3 separate regions of the Homo sapiens genome follow, and regions 1 and 3 are each linked to region 2. The links are contacts of gene promoters, found by promoter capture Hi-C in blood cells and fetal thymus (Javierre and others, 2016). All regions are on one chromosome and are shown on one strand. Each heading gives the region's core, a stretch centred on a gene start or on the middle of the fragment in contact. The rest is flanking DNA. Distances are from core to core; before and after follow the strand shown.

Evidence for each region. The method cuts DNA at HindIII sites, captures the fragments that hold promoters and counts their contacts. A CHiCAGO score of 5 or more calls a contact.
Region 1: the fragment with the promoter of GCN1 here is called in contact with the fragment with the promoter of UNC119B in region 2 in 1 of 17 cell types (non-activated CD4 T cells); the score reaches 5.1 in non-activated CD4 T cells.
Region 3: a fragment that was not itself captured here is called in contact with the fragment with the promoter of UNC119B in region 2 in 1 of 17 cell types (M1 macrophages); the score reaches 5.4 in M1 macrophages.

What each region holds. Positions count from the first base shown.
Region 1 is chr12:120,192,927-120,196,083 of GRCh38, reverse strand. It overlaps GCN1 (GCN1 activator of EIF2AK4), which reads left to right and starts at 1,369. Exons shown (of 58, transcript NM_006836.2): 1 at 1,369-1,404. The coding sequence starts at 1,387. RefSeq lists a silencer at 1,072-1,661. The HindIII fragment of the contact is 5,843 bases long and covers 1-2,333 here.
Region 2 is chr12:120,708,959-120,712,213 of GRCh38, reverse strand. UNC119B (unc-119 lipid binding chaperone B) reads right to left here and starts at 1,756. Exons shown (of 5, transcript NM_001080533.3): 1 at 1,496-1,756. The coding sequence starts at 1,739. It overlaps LOC124903036 (a long non-coding RNA gene), which reads left to right and starts at 1,708. Exons shown (of 2, transcript XR_007063491.1): 1 at 1,708-1,777; 2 at 1,940-2,281. RefSeq lists silencers at 1,447-1,716, 1,807-1,866 and an enhancer at 997-1,839. The HindIII fragment of the contact is 2,396 bases long and covers 763-3,158 here.
Region 3 is chr12:121,232,962-121,235,945 of GRCh38, reverse strand. P2RX4 (purinergic receptor P2X 4) reads right to left here. Exons shown (of 12, transcript NM_002560.3): 11 at 2,854-2,949; 12 at 1,840-2,423. The coding sequence ends at 2,397. Among named protein-coding and RNA genes, the nearest start is that of P2RX4, 24 kb to the right of the region's middle. RefSeq lists an enhancer at 1,577-2,204. The HindIII fragment of the contact is 6,150 bases long and covers 1-2,984 here.

The sequences.
Region 1 (3,157 bases), core at 120-2,619, 520 kb after region 2:
ATAGTCTCAAATATATTTGAGACTGGGGTGCAGTGGCTTGGACTTGGCTCACTGCAACCTCCGCCTCCTGGGTTCAAGTGATTCTCCTGCCTCAGCCTCCCAAGTAGCTGCAATTACCGGAGGCTGCCACCACACCGGGCTAATTTTTTTGTTGTTGAGACAGTCTCGTCCTGTCACCCAGACTGGAGTGCAATGGTATGGTCTCAGCTCACTGCAACCTCTGCCTCTCGGGTTCAAGCGGTTCTCCCACCTCAGCCTCCCCAGTAGCTGGGACTACAGGCATGTGCCACCACTCGGCTAATTTTTGTACTTTTAGTAGAGACGGGGTTTCACTATGTTGGCCAGGCTGGTCTGGAACTCCTGACCTTGTGATCTGCCCGCCCTGTCCTCCCGAAGCGCTGGAATTATACAAGGGTGAGCCACCGCACCCGGCCTTTTTTTTTTTTTTTTTTTTTTTTGGTATTTTTAGTAGAGACAAGGTTTTGTCATGTTGACCAGGCTGGTCTGGAAATCCTAACATCAGGTTGATCTACCCACCTCAGCCTCCCAAAGTGCTGGGATTACAGGCGTGAGCCACCATGCCTGGCCCCAGTATTTAAAGAGAAAGCAGCATCTGCTGAGAATAGGTGTTTTTGTTGTGATTCCTGTATTTCACTTAGAGATCTGTCTGCTGGAACATGATATATTCATTCTAACTAGGTCTGTGTCAAAGGTTTGAAAGCCACTGCTAACAGGGCTGACAACTAAGCTGTGGAGACCCTGTTCCCTAAATTGCAGCCACGTCTGCACGTAGCCTCTTGCCCTGTGGCCTTCAAAACTCCCAGCCTGGGGCGTCCAGCATTTCCCCAGGGCAGGGGCCTCGTTCAGTTCTGAACCTTCCCTGACCTCCGTATCCAGCCACGTTTGCTAACCCTGTACAAGTCATCCGCCAACTGAACTACAAACTGAGGACAAAAGACTAGTTCACCGACTCTTTTACCTAGTTTTTAGTTCCTGCTATCTAGGAAGCAACACTTGTTTTTCTAAAGAACTTAGTCATCACTCAGGAAAGGCCCACGTAGGGCTGGCCCTGCGGGCTGGAAGTGGGTCAGGGGCTGCAAGGCGGGCCCATAGCGTTACACCGCGGGCTCACCACGTTACAAGCGCTAGTCTCCCACGAGGCGCCCGGGGCTGAAGAGCGGGCCCTGGGGAGGAGGCCTTGTGGCTCGGGCGCGGGCCAACTTTAAGCCCGTGATCCGGCTGCCCGGGCTGCAGCGGCCGCCGTCCTGCCCGGGGGCACCAAGCCCGGGGCCCTGCCCCCGCTGGCTCCCGGCCTCGCCCTGCCGCGTGGGCCACGCTGTGACCCGGAAGCGTTCCGGAAGCGGTTCCGGAGTCAGCCCCGGCAGGATGGCGGCGGACACGCAGGTGAGGCGGGCGGCTGCGGGGCCAACGCGGCCAGGGACTGGGTGCGGACGGTGGCCGTCGGGCGGGGCCCCTCTCGCTCCTCGGCTTAGGGGCGTTGGAGGTGGTGGCTGTGGAGGTCGTAGTCTCGGGGCCGTCTCAGGCTGGACTCTCAGGGCTGCGGGCTTGGCCCGGCCCGGGCGGCGCAGGCAGACCGCGGGCTCGAGGAGTCCGGGGCTCCCGCCTCGACTTCAGCAGCTGGAGCTCGGCGGGGCCTTTGCCCGACCCCAGAGTTGCAGAAGTTCACTTTACCGAGCCTCTACTTCTTTTCTCCAAAGCCCTCCGGCTGTGAGCCCCGGGCCAACGCCAAGTCTTCCTTAAACTTTGTATTCAGCAAATATTCTTTGAGCACCTACTATGAGCAGGGACTTTGAGTGTAGTCTTTGGATTCATACAGATCTGGGCTTGAGTTCCTGCTCGTCGATTTCTGTGACATGCCAAACAAGTGACTTAACCCCGCCAAGTCTGCCTTTTCATCTATAAAATGAAGTTAAAACAATACTTATCTTAAAAGGTTGTTGTGAAGGTTCAGTGAGATAAAATACGGCTTGATATATGTTGGTTGTTATCAGATCCAGGGTTAGTGAAAAGAACTGTCCTGTCCAGGAAGAGTGTTACCTATGGGTACCTTGTAGTTCAGGAAGGACCTGGGAAAACCTTTTCCTCCACCCAGTTGTTATGTTTTAAGGTGAAAAGACATTGTCATGAGGCAGGGGAAGAACAGGTGTCTAAGGACAGCTGGGCTGATTTGGTGTCTCCAGGGTGATGGGATTGATTTTTATGTGTAGGCCCAGAAAATGACCACTTAAGCATTCAAAAAGACATTTACTGAGACTCCTATGCAGGTGGCTGATGTTCAAGTTATGTTGTACTGAATACTAGAAAGAAAAGCTTAGTATGAGAGGGTTAGGGGAATACATGCTGAATGTTTAACATTGATACTCACTTGAGGGAAAAATCTCTAGAGCTGCAATGTCCAGTATGGCAGCCACATGGCTTAAGTTTGTTAAAATTAAATTAAATAAAAAAATTCATTGTTTGGCTGGGCGTGGTGGCTCACCCTGTAATCCCAGCACTTTGGGAGGCCAAGGCGGGTGGATCAGTTGAGGTCAGGAGTTTGAGACTAGTCTGACCAACGTGGCAAAACCCCGTCTCTACTAAAAATGCAAAAAATTAACCGGGTATGGTGGCATGTCTGTAATTCCAGCTACTCAGGAGGCTGAGGCATGAGAATCGCTTGAACCTGGGAGGCAGAGGTTGCAGTGAGCTGAGATCGCACCACTGCGCTCCAGCCTGAGCAACAAGAGTGGGACTCTGTCTCAAAAAAAAAAAAAATTTAGTTCTTCACTTGTACCAGCCACATTTCAGTGCACAGTTAGCCACATGTAGCCAGTGGCTACCGTATTGGGTGGTGCAGGAGAATATTTCTGTATTTTATAATTTTTGTATTTTTAGTAGAGATGGGGTTTCTCCATGTTGGCCAGGCTGGTCTCGAATTCCTGACCTCAGGTGATCCTTCTGCCTTGGCCTCCCAAAGTGCTGGGATTACAGGCGTGAGCCACCGCACCTGGCCTGAAATTATTTTTTATTATTTTATTTTATTTTTTGAGACGGAGTTTCTCTCTTGTTGCCCAGGCTGGAGTGCAATGGCACGATCTGAACTCACTGCAACCTCTGCCTCCCAGGTTCAAGCAATTCTCCTGCCTCAGCTTCCCGA
Region 2 (3,255 bases), core at 507-3,006:
AACAAAGAGGTTGCCAGACTCTAAGAAGCTGCAGAGGTGGGTTTGGACAATGAGCAACAATCCCAAGCCCCCAGATAGGATCTGAGTGCCCACTGAGAATCCTGCTTAGGGCCAGGCACAGAATACCCTAACTCACTTGGATGGCAGGAGAGGGCATGAGGTTACCAAGACCAGGTGCTGAGCATCTGTACTTTCAGAGCCCCAAATGAAAACTGGTTCAGAAGAAAAGAAGCTTTTTCACACTGTTTCAATAAAACTAACAAGAATGTCTAAAGATACGTTCAGGTCTGGTAAGGACAGTCTCAACCCAAACAGTATTGGGAAACGGGGGCATCCAAATATCTAGAATCAAATTAAAACTCTTTTAGGAAATGGGAATTCCCTTTCGCACAGGGTGGACCAAGGCCTACTCCCCCCAAATTTCCATCCCCAAATTACTAGAGCTGCAATCGGCAACCTGAGGTGCACCTGAACAGCCCTGGGCTGCCTGCTATAGCAGCTCAGCAGACACCATGGCAGCCTTCGATCCATCCAGGGAATGTTGCTGCTGCCACAGGGTTAGGAGACTGCACGCCAGGAGTGATGGGCAGGCCAAGATAGGCCTAACTAGGTGAGTGCACACTCCTGCAGGGAAAACAGCAGCAAGAGAAAAGACGTCAAGTCAGGGACTGGCTTGGCAGAGAACAGAAAAAGGGAGATCACCCAGGGCAGGGACTGGGCAACATTTTTCTTCCCACCCATCCTCCTATCAACGAAAAAGCTTAGGATGGTTGCCTTTTGTGCAGGAAACGCATTTCTGAAACTCTGAAATCATTCTTAATTCACGAGAATGTCAAAAGCAGGATTCACATGTCGGAGTCTGTACACAAACTGAAACTTTATTTTTGTTTTAATGTGGCACAGTTTTAAATGAGCAGGAAATGCCACGGCTATGTGTTTTGAGGAAGAACCCATCTGCACACTAAGGGGCAACGCTCCCGACCCAAAGAGGGAGGGAGGCCGGGCAGGCTGCAATGGGGGAGGGCTGCCATGGGGCCAGGGCGGAGGAAGCAGGTAAGGCTTCTGGCCTGCCAGAGGGCTGGGGGAGCCTGGCTGAGCGGGAACTTCACTGATGGCCGGGGGTTCCAGGCTGAGGGCCCAGGGGCCCATTTATTAGGGGACCTCGGCCCCCGGCCGGCTCAGGAGGATCCAGTTCAGCTGAACGGGGCCCTCTACCCAAACAGGTCCGGCAGAGCTGGGGAGCCGACCGGCCGAAGGGCATCCTAGCGTGGCCGGACTCACAGGAATGCGGTCCAGCCCAGGAGAGTCCTTCCCCACCAGAGCTACGTGAGCGTGGCGGGAGCAAAGCCCGGCCGGCGGGGCAGCGGGAAGCGCGGCCCGGCCGGCCGAGGGGGTCTGGCGGGGACCCCCGCGCTGGTCAAGTGGCCGGGTCCGCTGAAGGCTCCGGGAGCCGGGGCACGGCGCGAGGGGAGGGCGCGGCCCGCGCGGCACTCACTCTCGGTGACCCGGCTGAGGCGCAGGACGTGCTCGGGCCGGATGGTGTCCAGCGCCAGCAGCTCCTGCTCCGTGACCGCTGCCCCGACGCCGTCGTCGGCCGCGTGGTGGGGCGCCTGCCGCCGCGCCTTCAGGCGGTTCAGGACGCCGCCGCCCGCCTTCTTCTTCTCCTCCTTGCCAGCCACCAGCCCCCCGGGCCCAGCCGCCGACGCCGCGGCCGCAGCCTTCGGGTTAGACCCGCTCATCGCTCCGCCGCCAAGATGGCCGCCGCCTCCACAGCGCGGTAACTATGGAGAGCGGGGGCGGGGCCCGGGGCCCGGCGGGGAAGGGGCGGGGAGGGGGCGGGGCGGGGGCGGGGGCGGGCGCCCGGGGGGCTGTGGAATTCCCTTTCGCACAGGGTGGACCAAGGCCCACTCTCCCCAAACTTCCATCCCCAAATAACTAGAGCTGCCATCAGCAACCTGAGGTGCACATGAGCAGCCCTGGGCTGACTCCTATAGCAATTCAGCGGACGACACCATGGCAGCCTTCGATCCATTCAGGGAATGCTGCTGCTGCCACAGGGTTAGGAGACCGCAGGCCAGGAGTGATGGGCAGGCCAAGATAGGCCTAACTGGGTGACTGCACACTCCTGCGGGGCCCGGGGGGCGGTGCTTCGGCTACTGCCCCAACTTTGGTCCTGCCAGGTGGAGGGCCTAGGGGTGGCTGGAGCTTCAGCAACCCCACTCCCCATCAGACCCCCAAGATCCTCCACGATGTTTAAATACATATCTTACGGTCAAATGAATTTACGTCATATAAACTTTCCTCCTCCTCATCCTCCTCCTGGTCTGAAAGAGCACACAGAATCTTCCGTGCACCATCTCGGCATTCTCAATCCAAGAGTTCTGTCACCAGTCCCAACAGCACAATGGCAACTAATTCCCAGTAATCACACCAAGAAGAAGAATGGCCAGTGTTTACTGCGCACTTGCTATATGGCAGGACACTTGCTATAGGGCAGGCTCCTCACCTCACAACAACCCTGTGAGGTATTACTGTCTCCATTTTACAGATCAGGAAGCTCAAGTTCAGAGAAGTCAGGTAACATGTCCAAAGTCCCTCAAGCAGTAAGAGGAGGGAACAGGGATTTTAATCCAGGTCCATCTGACCCAAGGCCTGTTCTTCAACACTAAGCTATTAGTGGACAATGCATCTTGAGAAAATGTTTATTAATATATTTAGCATAGAAGGTAAGTTAAAGCAGTGTTTGTTTTGCAAAGGCAGTTTCAAGACAAACTTTCCAATGAGATTGCCATCCGTAAGCCCTACTGTGCCAGGCCCTGGGCTAGACATTGGGCTAGGCTACAGGAGATGTAAGAGTGAGGGCAGGGATTGGGTCTGCCTCACCCCTGAATTCCCAGCAGTTCAGCTAATGCCTGACACGTGGTAGGTGCTCAGTAATGATTGAATGAGAGCCTGAACAGTATCCCACTATGGAAGAGCTCCCACTTTTGTTAGAGAAGACTGTAAAGTACACAATTCATTATGTGACCCTTCCTTTTCACAAGGTAGGTTAGTATGAACTGGAAGACAAACTAGATTCACTGACTGCACTAAGAGATGCAGCAAAGGTGCTAGGAGAACACACAGGAGTGGTTTATTCTGACCTGGCTGTAAAAGCTTGAGGGCTTCGGAAGTTTTCAGAGGCAATATCTGCACTGAGCTTTGGAAGTTAGCCATGACCTCACCAATTAGCCAGAAGTGGGTCAACAGGGGGAT
Region 3 (2,984 bases), core at 38-2,537, 520 kb before region 2:
AGTCACCTCCCCAAGGCTTCACCTCCCAATAAGGTTGCCTTGGGGATGAAGTTTCCAAAATGTGAATTTTGGTAGACACATTCAGCCCATATCACCATTCCTAAACATTCCAGCTTCATTTGACCCATGTGCCTAAGCAAGCACTTTTTATTTTTTCAGACAGGGTCTCACTTTGGTGCCCAGGCTGGAGTACAGTGGCACCATCATAGCTCACTGCAGCCTCAACCTCCTGGGCTCAAGTGATCCTCCGGCCTCAGCCACCCAAGTAGCTGGGACTACAGATATATACCGCCACACCCGGCTAATTTAATTTTTTGTAGAGATAGGGTCTCACCATGTTGACTGGGCTGGTCTTGAATGCCTACGCTTAAGTGATCCACCTTGGCCTCCCAAAGTCCTGGGATTACAGGCAACAAGCATTTTTTTTTAAAAGGCAGCATGAACCAGAGCTTCAATAAAGGGAGTTGGTAAACTTTTTTTTTTTTTTCCAAAAGCAAGAAAAGCCCAGGTTGGCCATTTATCCAGCAGAAGCAGAGTATTTGTAAAATAATGGTTCCTCTCAGTACTTGGAAGTGAATTCATGGCAGAGGCGAAGGGCAAACTGCTTCCTCTAGGGGGATTCTGAATACCTGATGCAGAATTCAGCTGGTGTGTGGCTGGGTGCAGTGGCTCACGCCTGTAATCCCAGCACTTTGGGAGGCTGAGGCGGTGGATCATGAGGTCAGGAGTTCCAGACCAGCCTGGCCAACATGGTGAACCTCTGTCTCTACTAAAAATACAAAAATTAGCTGGGTGTGGTGGCAGATGCCTGTAATCCCAGCTACTTGGGAGGCTGAGGCAGGAGAATTGCTTGAACCCAGGAGGCAGAGGTTGCAGTGAGCCGAGATCATGCCACTGCACTCCAGCCTGGGCAATAGGGCAAGACTCTGTCTCAAAAACAAAAAAACACAAACATTTAGTTGGTGTGAAGCTGCAGCTGGAAATAGCTTCATGAACATTTCGAACCTGTGCGGAGCTAGGTATGCGTGCTGCTGCTTTTGGTTGGAGACTTTTGGGAAGCAAACAGGGAAGGGAGAGGAAGCCACTTCCATGTTACCAAAAATTGTGTTACCCACAGCATAGAATTGTAATTTTATGTCAAAATGGAGGCACAGGTAAGATGTCACTAGAGAAAAAGTGTCCTGTGAACTGTGCAGGAAGACAAGCTAATGACAAATTATTAGGCTTTAAAAAGTAGGCAGCTGGGTGCAGTGGCTCATGCTTGTAATCCCAGCACTATGGGAGGCTGAGGTAGGAGGATCGCTTAAGCCCAGGAGGTGGAGACTGCAGTGAGCAGTGATTGCGCCACTGCACTCCAGCCTGGGTAATAAAAAAAATAAATAGGCCAGGTGTGGTGGCGCACACCTGTAATCCAATCACTTTGAGAGGCTAAGGCAGATGGATCATTTGAGGTCAGGAGTTCGAGACCAGCCTGGCTGGCCAATGTGGTGAAACCCTGTCTCTACTAAAAATACAAAAATTAGCCGGGCATGGTGGCATGCACCTGTAATCCCAGCTACTCGGGAGGCTGAGGCAGGAGAATCGCTTGAACCCGGGAGGCAGAGGTTGCAATGAGCCGAGATTGCACCACTGCGCTCCAGCCTGGGCGACAGAGTGAGACTCTGCCTCAAAAATAAAATAAATAAATAAAGAAGTAGGGGAAAATGTGCATAAGTGCCAGAAACAGACCATCCCATGGACCTTTTCTGAGCACAGTGAGCCGGAATAGTGGATTTACTGGTTGTCGTAAAAGGGTAGGAAGGAAAGTTCTAGCACATGCTATGAGACAACAGACAGGGATTAAGAAAATCACGCTTTAATGTCTGGTCCTCGATCACCTTAGCACAGCGCTTCTCTGAGGAGAAATGCCAGCTCTGCCGCATGGCTGCAGGGAATGGTCGGGGGGAAGCCTGCAGCCCAGGCCTGCTACAAGTCTAGTGACTGCAGCCAGGCGGCCTCCCCTGCCGCATAAAGTGCTTGAACAGAGCCGCCGTGCCTCAGAGGACTGGGCCTGTCCTGGAGAGAGCTGGAGACAGGAGGCTTCTGAGCAAAGCCAGCTCCAGCCCTGAAAGCCACAGCAGTGCCACTGCGTCGGGCCAGCGCTCCCCCGACAACCCCAGGTTGCGGGAAAAGCAGAGTTGACCCAGCCAAGAACAGACTGCTGACCTCCTGGGCCGAGTGGGCAAACAGATCCTGCACACAACACACAGGAGCTGCTGGGGAACCCTGAGTGCTTGTGGAGTGGAGACTCAATCAGATTCCAGAAATTTCTCTGGGGTGATGTGGTGGCCATTTCTCCCTCCTCCTCCTCTCTGTTCTTTGATGGGGCTGTGGAGAGCCCAGGTGTGGGGTAGGCCTCACTGGTCCAGCTCACTAGCAAGACCCTGCAAAGAAGGACACAAGCAGATCAAGGTGCCCCTGGGACCCCTTGTGGCAGGCGGGAGGGAGGTGCGCTCCTGGGACTTCACCGCCAGGGGTTCTCAAGTTGGTCCCAGGCCTGGAACCCAACCCTTCCTGTTCCGCAAGGTGCACTGAAGTAGTGTGTGCCCACAGGCATTCTCAGAGCATGCATTATCATCACCAACCTGAGATGTCGCTCATTGAAACGAGGCTGGGTTTAAAGAGTCAATCTAGTACAGGGGCCTAGGGATGGAGCAGCTGCTGAGAGTGGCAGGACTGCCCGGGTTAACGGGGACACCACGCCACACTGGTGCCAGCCTCTGCAGAAGGGCCTCCCCAGACAGGCCCACGCCCAGGGCTCCCACACCCAAGAGATGAGAGGCCTGTGCCTGCTGGGGGCCAGGAGGGGCCTACCTGCTCGTAATCTTCCACATATTTATATTTCTTCTCCCGATAGTAGAGTCTTTTCTTCATGCAGTAGAGGACTATGATGTCACACAGCACGGTCGCCTGAGTTTAGCATAGGGTGAGAGTGAGCCAGGATG